Regions from separate parts of the Homo sapiens genome. Here all the other regions are linked to region 4. The links are contacts of gene promoters, found by promoter capture Hi-C in human tissues and cell types (Jung and others, 2019). All regions are on one chromosome and are shown on one strand. The core of a region is centred on a gene start or on the middle of the fragment in contact, and the rest is flanking DNA. Distances in the headings are between cores, read along the strand shown.

Region 1 (2,700 bases), core at 104-2,603, 270 kb before region 4:
ATAAGAGTACAGACTTAGTAGTCACACAGATTTGGGTTCAACTCCAGGCTTCACCCATGCAGGCTATGTGACCTTGCACCGATTATTTAATTTCTTTGGGCCTCAGAGCCTCCTAAAGTGGTTGTGGCAGTTTAATGAAATAAAATGAATGAAATAAAATAGTATAGTATCTGGCATTTAGTAGGCCCTCAAAGTATTGTTTAGAATAGCTACGCAGGATTTTGTTGAATTACACTGAATCTTACTAAAGAACAAGCCTCTTAGAGGTCTCGAAGAATTTAGCCAAGCCTTGTACACTGTGTGAAATGTTTGTTATATTTGAGTGTGCAGAACTTTGCAGCTCATGGAGAGCTGACCGTGCTAAGTAGAGACTTTCCTTTCAGTGGTGGTGGGCTTGGTAAATGCTGATTATCAGGGCCTTTTGATAAACTTGTCCAAAGTGGTGTCACCCCTCCACAGAGCCTCTGTTGGGACCACTCAACAGCTGGCAGGCTTGGCTAGGCGTAGTCACAGGGCGAGTCTCAGCTATAAGAGAGCCAGGGCAGCCCTCAGGAAGTGGGCCCAAAAAAATGAAATGCACCTCTAGTAGGAGCCTAGCCCTGTACTTCCTAAGCAGGCTTGTAAACCCTCCTGCCATTGTCCCCTGTCACCTCTGTCAAGCCAGGCCTTAGGAAATGAATATTACTCAAGAGCAGTCTGTCTAGCAAAATCTTTTTTTTTTTTTTTTTTTTGAGACAGATTCTTGCTCTGTCACCCAGGCTGGAGTACGGTGACGCCATCTTGGCTCACTGCAGCTTCTGCCTCCTGGGCTCAAGTGATCCTCCCACCTCAGCCGCCCAAGTAGCTGGGACTATAGGTGCGCACCACCACACCCAGTTAGTTTTTGTATATTTTGTTGAGATGGGATTTTGCCGTATTGCCCAGGCTGTTCTTGATCTCCTGGGCTCAAGCCCTCCATCTACCTCGGCCTCCCAAAGTGCTGGGATTACAGGCGTGAGCCATTGTGGCAAGCCTGTCTTTTTATTCTTTGTTGCTGAATCTTCTTGAGATTACATTAGCTTCTTGGCGTTAATTTTGTTATCCTATTCATAGGTGGTAATGATAAATACATCTATTAAATAACTTAAAGGGTGCATTTGTTTATCTTTCATGTTGAGTGACATCGAGTAAACATCTCCTACAAAGATAAAACTTGTAGGTTTTTTCTGAAGGAAGTAGCTGTTGTGAAGCAAACATAGTGAATTTCTAATAGAAATTAGAATTTTTTAAATACTTATAAACACTCCTTGCAAGCATCTTCCCTGCTTACAGATCAATGTCTTTTTTTCTTCAAGGGACATGGCTTGCAGTGTGGCAGGCATAACTTCTGATGCTAATGTTCTGACTAATGAACTAAGGCTCATTGCTCAAAGGTATGGTCATAAATAGCATAACTGATGATACAGAAATTAGTTTTGATGTTTCTTTTTTTTTTTTTTGAGACAGAGTCTCACTCTGTCACCCAGGCTGGAGTGCAGTGGCACGATCTTGGCTCACTGCAACCTCCGCCTCCCGGGTTCAAGCGATTCTCCTGCCTCAGCCTCCCAAGTAGCTGACCACCACACCGGGTTAATTTTTGTATTTTTAGTAGAGACGGGGTTTCACTGTGTTAGCCAGGATGGTCTCGATTTCCTGACCTCGTGATCCGCCTGCCTTGGCCTCCCAAAGTGCTGGGATTACAGGCATTAGCCACTGCACCTGGCCTAGTTTTGATGTTTCTAAGGAGAGCTCACTTTTGCAAAGATTAAAGTCATTAAAAATCTTTGAATTGAAAATTACAGATTTTTTTCAACCAAACTTACAAAATATTATTTACTATGAGAATATTCAGATGTTGACTTGTTCCCTCCCCTTCAAATTACAAATGACTGTTAGGTTGTCCCCATGGCATAGATTGCTTTTCAGAGAATATTTTCCTTAGAGTCTGTCTGTGTTTTAGAGAAAACTACTAATGTGCCCATCTCTTTATCCTAGGTATTTATTACAGTATCAGGAGCCAATACCTTGTGAGCAGTTGGTTACAGCGCTGTGTGATATCAAACAAGCTTATACACAATTTGGAGGTATTTAATTTTTTTGAAAATTTTATTCGAAAAAGTTAAGACATTTTATGAGTTATAACCCTTTTGAGGTAGTAAAAAATTGAAAATAGACCCTTTGTTTTAAATTAAATTTAATTTTTTTAATTGGCAAATAAGAATTGTACATATTCATGAGGTACATAATGATGTTTCAGTGCACATAATGATCAGATCAGGGTAAATGGCACATTCATCATCTCAAACACTTGTGTTGGGAGCCTTCCATATCCTTCTAGCTATTTGAAACTAATATGTTATGGTTAACTATATTAATCCTACAGTAGTATAGAACACTAGAATTTCATACATTCTTGCTTCATGAATGAACGTGTTCCTCCACCATGTAGATTACCCTCGTTTTATTAATAGGATATTGAAAGTCCAAAACAACATTTTCAAATCTGGAAACTAACTGCTGTTTACATAATAATGAAATTCAGCACTGGTCCTTTGTCTGTTCCCTCTTCTGGCTGTGTCCAAATCGTAGAAACAAAAGTCGAATTTGTAATGGAGCTTATCTATGGTAGCCAGAATACAAAACAGTTTATGAATGCTTAAGTTCACAGAGTAGGGTTTAGCT
Region 2 (2,700 bases), core at 35-2,534, 300 kb before region 4:
AAATAAGAAACCAATTTGCAGGCATGAGTGGACCAGTACCCAGGACTCTCTTCCAGTAGCCTACAGTAGATAGAGGGCTCTGACTTATCGGAGAAGTCCTGCTTGGCTGGAGAAGGGCATCAAGCTGTTTATCAGCGCCTCATGCCCTTAACAGTTAAGACCATCCAACTAACCTGGCTGTTACTCCATGAATCTCGTGCAGCTTTCTGAAAATCATGGGGTCTCTGCGGACTTTCCTGCAGAAAGAGAGCCCACTGATTCCACTACCTAGATAAAGGCGTGGTGGTGGGCCCCTGTAATCCCAACTACTCGGTGTAAGAATTAAAGAAAGAGGAAAGAAACACGAAAAGTGGCTTGGTGGTCATAAGAGGTTTATTTTAGAGAAAACCTGAGAGGGGCGTCTGGCCAAGTTAGGTCAGAGGCACACTCTCTTACAGACTAAGTAAGTTTTTAAGGATTCGGAGTGGGAGAGTTTATCAGAGGCTTGGACTGCTTCTGTGTCTCTTTGTTGTGCTTATCTCGGAGGGAGAGTTGTGTGTCTGTTCCCATACATCTTTCTGCAGCTGCAGACATACCCCCTGAGTCTAATTTTTGTATTTTTAGTAGAGAGGGGTTTCACCATGTTGGCCAGGCTGGTCTCGAACTCCTGACCTCAGGTGATCCTCCCGCCTCGGTCTCCCAAATTTCTGGGATTACAGGCGTGAGCCATCTGCGCCCTGCCTAAACTGTTCGGGTTCTAACATTCCAGCATCCTCCTGCGGAACGCAGCCAGGCCTTACTCAGGCCTTCCAATCAGGACCCTTACAGTTCCTGGGGCTGGGATTGCGAGTCTCTCTGGGGCCACGCTTTCTAAGCGTATCACTTCCAGGATACGTGCCTCCAACAGAAGGAATGAAGGCTAGGAAACAAAAACGTGGATGCGGGTGAGGAGCTGTCAGTGTTACCGCCACGACAACGTGGACCCTGCGAAACTCGGAGGTGCCACTCAAGAGCCGAAAGCCTGCCCACTCGGGGTGGGGCGGCAACCCGGAGAGCCAATCAGGAATAAGGAGTCCGGTTCATGAAAAGGTAGCCGGATTCTGACTGGGATACTCACTGTGAGAAGGCTGGGCGGAGTTGCAGAAAGTCAACAGAAGCCGAATCTCTGAATTTCTGTTCGCAGCCTCCTAGGCGGGGCCGGGAAAAAAATCCAGTAGTCTGCGCTGACTGGGCGGCGAGGGACCGGGAGGAGCCAATCAGAAGTCAGGACTCGCGGGGCTTGGAGGAGGGGCGCGGGCGCTGCGGCCCCTGCTCTACCTCCTAGCGCCGGTGCGCGGCCGAGGCCGCACTACCTGTCTGCGGGAAAGCGGGATCCACCCCAGGACGTCGGGTCGCTGCCGGTGAGCCAAGGAGGGGGAAGCAGAGACGAGCCCTGCGTCCCCGCTGCGGGAGTCGGGGTCGCCCCCGAGGGCAGGGAGGCTCGCTGCAAGTGTGGAGCCGGGAGTCCTATGCCTCAGGCTCCTCCAGCCCGCGCTATCCTCAGCTCGCTGCGTGCGTGATGGGCAAGTCACCCTTCTTCCCGGACCTCACCTGTAACCTAGGAGGGCTGAGCTGGGCCCCCAGAATGAAAGCGTGGCACCCGAGAAGCTGTCGAGGCCAGCCCTCCCGGGTCTGTGTGGGGTCGCTGGCCGAGGGCTGTGCCGGCGCCTGGCCGGTGTCTACTGGGAGCAGTCTCTGAGCTCCGCTGAACCTCACTTACTCATGCGCCCTCCTCCTCTCTTTTCCTGCCTCTTGGTTCAGCAGCCCCTCTGCAGCCCGCTCACCCACCACTTTTTCCCCTTCACCCACCAGGAAGACCCTTAAAAGCACCTAGTAATGCACTGTTGTCTTTGAAAAACTGCAGATGCTAGATTCCCCACCTTTCTGTTTCATGATCCCCTTGGGGTTGAACTGCCCCGTGAGTCTGTGGAATGAAGGTCACCCTTGGTTCACCATTTAATATTAAATAAGGGACTAGCCTAGGGGCTGAGAATACAGAGATTGACTGGGTATAATCCCTTGGAAGGACGCAGCAAAAGGGAATGTAGGAGAAGAAAGGTAGAGTTGGAAGACATGCTAAGGTAGAATTTACTAGACTTTGTTACACGTTGGGAGTGAGGGACAGGAAAGAATCAAGAATGACTCCTGTTTCTTGTCTGGTATACTTTGCACAAAGTACAGAGCTTAAGTTCCAGCCCCCTCCCGGCTGCAGGACAAAGGTGGTGAGATTCTGACGCAGATCTTGGAGTTGGAAATCACACTTGCTTCCTGCGGGCTTTTTCAGGAGCTAAATACTGTTGGCCGGATATATAGACCAACAGCCTATAGTACCTGAATTCCTCCTCTCCCTTTCAATGAAGTAGGAAAAAAAGTTAATAATTTTTAAAAATGTGTGAGTGGGCAACATAGCGAGACACTGTCTCTAAAAAAATAAAAATAATAAAATCAAAAAGACAGCCATGATGGCTTGCACCTGTAATCCCAGCACTTTGGGAGACCAAGGTAGGAGGATTGCTTGAGCCCAGAAGTTCGAGACCAGCCTGGGCAACATAGTGGGACCCTCTCTCTCCAAAAAAAAAAAAAAAAAAAAGGCCAGGCATGGTGGCACCTGCCTGCAGTCCCAGCTATTTGGGAAGCTCAGGTGGGAGGATCCCTTGAGCCCAGGAGTTGGAAGCTGCAGTA
Region 3 (2,700 bases), core at 68-2,567, 410 kb before region 4:
GCCCCTCAAACTGCTGGAATTACAGGTGTGAACTACTGTGCCCGGCCCAAATCACTCATTTATTGTCTGAAGAGCTGAGCCGTGTGAAGCCCAGCCCCTTGGAGGGTGCTGGGGTTGGATGGGGGTAACCAGTAAGACCCCTGCGTACTGGACACTGTGCTGGGTGCTTCACCACATCCTCTCACTTTCTCCCTGGACTGTCCCTAGGAGTGAGGTGATGGGGACTGTGTTCCTTATTTTACAGATGAGGCAACTGTGGCTCAGAGAGGTTAAATCACTTGCCCAGGGTCACACAGCTAGAAAGTGATGGAGTTGTGATTCAAACCCAGGCCAGTCTGATACCAAGCCTTTGGCCTTCCCGTGTGCTAGACTCCGGGAGGACGACCTAGAATAGTTGAAGCAAGAGCTGTCATATAGGTGAGAAAGAACTTTGGGAGCTATAGCAAGGAAGAGAAAGGAAATTGCATCTTTGAGGCCAAAGATTATTAGTCACAGAGGTATGGCTACCAGGCCCTCGAGCTGTCACTTACTTGCCACAAGCAGGGCCCTGAAAAGCCTGTTTTTTTCTGCTCTGACTTCAAACACAGATTCTCCAAGCAAGAAAGGCTAGCTTGTGAGACCAAGTTTCACAGAGATGGAGCTTGCAGGGAAAGGTCAGAGGAATTGTCCCCGGGTTCCTCAGAGGAGGCAGACGAGTTCGGAGTAGTTAGCAATAAACATATCAGCCCCGGCCCCTAGAGGGCACTGGCCAGAGGGAGCCTCAAGGGAGCAAGCAGGGCTGGGGCATGGAAGCCAGCCAGAGTCCAGCCTAGCTTTGGGCCGGGCCCAGAAACCAGTTCTGTTAAACAAAGCATTACACAACCATCTCATTAACTGCATCAATCCAGAAGGTCAAACTAACTCACTCCAGCGTCTGCGGGGCTCTGTTGGGGTGGGTGGGAGAGGACAGCCTCCTGAATTCCAGGCACTTGGGTCCACGTTGGTTTAATTAGCTCCATGATGTCCGCTTCCCTTGGGCACAGCCTTGCATGCCAGGGCCCTGACAGCTGCCTGGTGCCCCTAGAGGAGCCAGAAAAAGAGGGGGGTGCCTAGGGCAGGAGTGAACCCCTCACCCAGGCCAGCCAGGGCAGGAAGTCTGGGGTTGGCAGAGCAGTGATACAAAGACCAAGGCTGGAGATACCATGTTAGGGCTCAGGCTGAAAGGACCCGGAGAAGCTGTGGGTGAGAAAATGAGGCTGGCAAGTTTGCAGAGTGTGAAGCAAGCCAGGGCAACAGGTTCAAGACAGAGGCCAAAAGGAACACAAAGGTGTCATTGGCCAAGTTGGGGCATTGTCAGTTATAGATATGACAGACTGGAGGTACTCAGCAGGACTGAACTGTGGCAAGTGGTCAGGACTAGAGAACTCGAAGAAAGTCACAGAACTCAAGGAATAATAATAAAGGTAATGGAAAGGTCGGGAAACTAAAACAATTGTTCTCAAAGTGTAGTCCCTAGAGTAGCGGCATTAGTATCACCTGAGAACTTCTTAGAAATGCAAAATATTGGAATCTACCCTAGGCCTTCAAAATCAGACTGGGAAAGGCCCAGCAATCTGTGTTTTAATAAGACCTGAGGGTCATTCTGATGCAGGATGAAGCTTGAGAACCACTAGGCTACTCAGTGTGGTTGGTCCATGGACCAGCACCATCAGATGAAATGGCGCTGAGAGTTTGTTACAAATGCAGACTCTCAGGCCTGGCCCCAGACCTACTGAGTCTGCAGTTTAACAGGATCCCTGGGGCATCCCACGTACCTTTTAATTTGACAAGAGCTACACCTGAGCTCCACTGACCTGGGATTCTTTGGTCTGGGTGTGAATGAGTCTGTGTCTAAGTCCAGGGACAAATAGACACAGATGGCAATGGGGAAGTAGGCCACCCAGTTCCAGGCATAGGCAAAGGCTGTCCTCAGCTCTTCACGAATTTAGACTGCTGCCAGAAAATGTCACCAAGAAAAATAATGGCTTCACTGAGCCTGCAAATGTGCTCAACCTAGACATTGTGCAGAAAGCAGATTGCAAAGGCAACAAGACCAACAGCCCGACAGTGCTATTCGTATTCCATGGGAGACAGCTGGAGCCCCTGAGATGCAGGCGGGCTCCCAACCCTCTGTGATTGTGATGTGGAGATGATTTAAGAAGAAGCAGCCGAGGGTGGCTGTAAGCAAGTGACGCTCCTGAGAAGACAAAGCTGCAGAGATAGGAGGCTGGACCTGTCACCGCTGCCCAGAATGACCCAGGATTCTCATTCTTTCCAGGGAAACCAGTGGGCAACATTGACGACTGACAGGAGGGGACCTTGCCTCCAAGGCTCCAAGGCCGGATAAGAATGGCTTTACCTTCCTGACTCCAGAAAGAACCGCCCTTTTTCCCCACCTCCCTGATGGCTTCCTGGTGCTTGTGATTCTACCAGACTAGCTTTTCCTTTCCCCCTAATAATAGCTGCTAATTAATATTTAGCGAGGGTTTACCAAGCGCCGGGCTCTGAGCTAAGTACCTTGTATGTACTTTTTTCATTTAATCCTCTCAACAGTTCTACTAGGAAGGTACTACTATTTTCAGTATTTACTAATATTTGGGTATTTCTTAATTACTAAAAACATTTCTCATTCTACAGATGAAAATTGAGAGTAGAAGTTGGTCAGTAGCTTTCCGAAGTCAG
Region 4 (2,700 bases), core at 201-2,700:
CGGCTTCCCAAACCTCTAAGATCAAGAGTCAATGTCCCCATCCTTCCCGCCCAGACTACTTTCTCGTCACAATCCCTCCAGTGGGGAGGCAGGTCGACCCCATCCCAGCAAGCAACCCTAATCCAGTCCCCCGACTGATGCTCCCCAGGGGAGGGCCCCACTCCCTCCACGCCCTTCTAGCTCATCCAGAATCCATCCATCCTTCCAGTCTCTCCAACCTCATGCCCCTCCTCTCCTACAAAGCCTGCCGGTCGGCTCTATTGCAGGACTCTCCCCACTATCCACCGGCTCCCCTGACTGGGAGCTCCCTGAGCACCGGGCCTGGGGTCTCCTACATCCTCGGTTACTGAATTCCCAGGCCGGCTGCGTCGGACGCGCCAGCAGCGCGGCCGCCCGGCAGGTCGCCGCCAAACAAGAGTCTGGACGCAGGCCAGAGGCTCGTCGGAGGCCGGCCCGGCGGGGCGGGGAGAGTTAACCCATGGCCGGGAAAAGAAGCTCCTGCTCCCCGCTCCACTCCCGGCGTCTTCACACTTGGGGAAGGGAGAGGCAGGAAGTGCAAGGACCGCGCAAGACCCGGCCCCCCGAGCCGCCAGGGGCCGCGCCAGCAGCCCAGATGCGGTGGGCGGGAGCTGGGGGGGCGGCGGGGTCCCGCGAAGACCTGCGACCTGGCGCCCTCGCCGGCTGTGTCCCGGCCAGCCCGCTTTCCAGGCGAGCCTCGCTAAGGAGTGTGAGAAACCAAATCCTCAGTGGGTAAACCGCGCTCCGTCCAGCCCACTCGGACGAGAGCTCTCCCGGGAGCCAGGCGCGTTGCTGCACCCGAGGTGGGGAAACCGGAGCCCGAAGAGCGGAAGGGGCTTATTCCAGGCGACAGGCAGTGTCAGTAACTGAATCAGGGGCCGAGGAAGTTTCCCCAGAAGCGCGGCTTCGCTCCCGGCCCGGCCCGACCCCGACTACTGTCCCCTAATACCCAGGGAGCGGAAGACGCGACCAACTCCAGGCACAGCGGAGCCGGCGCGGGGTCCACAAAGGTGAGGAGGGACAAAACCGAGACTGGGGGAGCGGGAAGGGGTGGCAGGCCCGGCTGGCCGGGGAGGGGCGGACACCCACCTGGTGCGGGTCCGGGGGCGCCGGGAGCCAGAGCGCAGAGGAGCAGGAGGAGGGGGCGCAGCAAAGGCGCGGGGCTGCGGGGACTGGGGCCGCCGGGCATGGCAGGAACCGGGCGGCCGCCGGGTGACCCCGCGCGCACGCTCTCGTCCGTCCCGTCCGGTCGCTGCCTGGTCCCAGGTCCGGCTCAGGACATGCCCGGCCGGCGTGCAGCTCCCGGCGACCCGGCCCCGACTCCGTTCGGCTGCGCTCGGTCCGCGGGCAACAAAGGCTGCAGGGCCCGCCCCCTTGGCCGCTGCAGAGGCAAAGAAAAGACAAGAGAGCTAGAAGGAGAGAAAGAAAGAAAGAAAGAAAGGGAGGGAGAGTGAGGGAGGGCGGCTGCCGGCCCCCGCCCCGCCCCTCGGACTCCTTCCCCCGCCCCTGGCCCCGCCCCGCCCCGGCCGGCCCCGGCCTCATCGGCCCCGCAGGCCGTGCTCGCCTCAAGGGCTGGCCGGCCCGGCGCAGGCAGCGCCCCGCAACGGATGTCCGCCCCCCTCGCCCCCCTGTCCCGAGCGCCCCCTGCCGGCGGAGCCCTGCCAGGCCTTTCCGACCCCGGCCGGTTGAGGACCCCCGGAAAGAATCTGGAATTTCCAGAATTAATGTGTTGTCCCTAAATTGGGCTCCACGAGGTGCCCTTCGCTGTGTTCCCCAGGCCAAGCAGGGCAGCCCCTCAAAAGGGGACGCGGGAGGCCTCCAGAGGGCCACACCGGGGGCCCTGCTTCAAAGCTATCTGCGGAGACAGGCCTGGGCCCTCCCTGGACAGACAGCGGTTGCCCGCGCGAGGTGGGGCCCCGCAGTTCCTCGTCTCCTGACTCCTCTCCTAGTGCGTTTGCTTGAAGCAGAGCGCAGAGTTGAGCCCACAGGCGGGGGACCGCGGCTTCGCCCAGGCCAGCGCCCACAGACTTTCAGCAGGGGCTCCCGGGGAGCCTGGAGGCCGGCCAACCCCAGCCTCACATCCCAGGCCAGCCTCCGCCTCCAACACCGGCCGTCTGTCCTTCGTGGCCCCAGCCCTGGCTCTGGCTTCCGGCTCCCCTTCCCCCTGTGCTCCCAGGAGCTTCCTTTCTCCCTTCTGCCGTCACTAAACATGGCCCTGTACCGAGGACGCCCGTCTTGTCCTCGGGGCGGTTGCGGTCAGCTTCCTCCCCTTGGTTAGTCTTTGTGTGCCCCCTGCCCTCTGAGGCCCGCACACCTCCTCATTGTCCAATCTCCTGGGCCCTTTCATTCAATTCCTGGAAGCTCACTTCTGGCTTCCTCTCCACCCTCAACCTGTCTGTCCTCTAGGGAATTTGTGTAGTACAGGGTCACCTACTTCCTCCATCTCATCTCCAGTGACCTTCCACTCCACCTCAGCCATCAGGTCTCAGGGCCAAAGCCTGGGCTGTGTCATCCCTCAGAACTGCTCCATCTTGGAAATCCGAAGCTCAGGTGCCCCCCTGTCAGACCCGACTCTGCAGTCCTTTCCACCTTCACAGTCCCACTATGTATTGCTCTTCCTCCAGTCCCTTGATACCTTCCTCTTCGCCCAACCTACCAGCCCCTCCTGGCTTCACCTACTTC

The links. Contacts are between HindIII fragments. The study calls those that stand out against the background at their distance.
Region 1: a contact is called between a fragment that was not itself captured here and the fragment with the promoter of ADAMTS7 in region 4, in 1 of the 25 tissues and cell types used here (aorta).
Region 2: the fragment with the promoter of HYKK here is called in contact with the fragment with the promoter of ADAMTS7 in region 4 in 2 of the 25 tissues and cell types used here (liver and mesendoderm cells).
Region 3: a contact is called between a fragment that was not itself captured here and the fragment with the promoter of ADAMTS7 in region 4, in 2 of the 25 tissues and cell types used here (H1 embryonic stem cells and liver).

Annotation. Positions count from the first base shown.
Region 1 is chr15:78,542,856-78,545,555 of GRCh38, forward strand. PSMA4 (proteasome 20S subunit alpha 4) reads left to right here. Exons shown (of 9, transcript NM_002789.6): 5 at 1,335-1,412; 6 at 2,014-2,102. Among named protein-coding and RNA genes, the nearest start is that of PSMA4, 3.8 kb to the left of the region's middle. The HindIII fragment of the contact is 5,249 bases long and covers 1-2,700 here.
Region 2 is chr15:78,506,293-78,508,992 of GRCh38, forward strand. It overlaps HYKK (hydroxylysine kinase), which reads left to right and starts at 1,285. Exons shown (of 5, transcript NM_001013619.4): 1 at 1,285-1,379. The HindIII fragment of the contact is 18,918 bases long and covers 1-2,700 here.
Region 3 is chr15:78,396,349-78,399,048 of GRCh38, forward strand. No RefSeq gene overlaps it. Among named protein-coding and RNA genes, the nearest start is that of IREB2, 41 kb to the right of the region's middle. The HindIII fragment of the contact is 7,261 bases long and covers 1-2,700 here.
Region 4 is chr15:78,810,014-78,812,713 of GRCh38, forward strand. ADAMTS7 (ADAM metallopeptidase with thrombospondin type 1 motif 7) reads right to left here and starts at 1,451. Exons shown (of 24, transcript NM_014272.5): 1 at 1,108-1,451. The coding sequence starts at 1,207. RefSeq lists a silencer at 1,479-1,898. The HindIII fragment of the contact is 14,119 bases long and covers 1-2,700 here.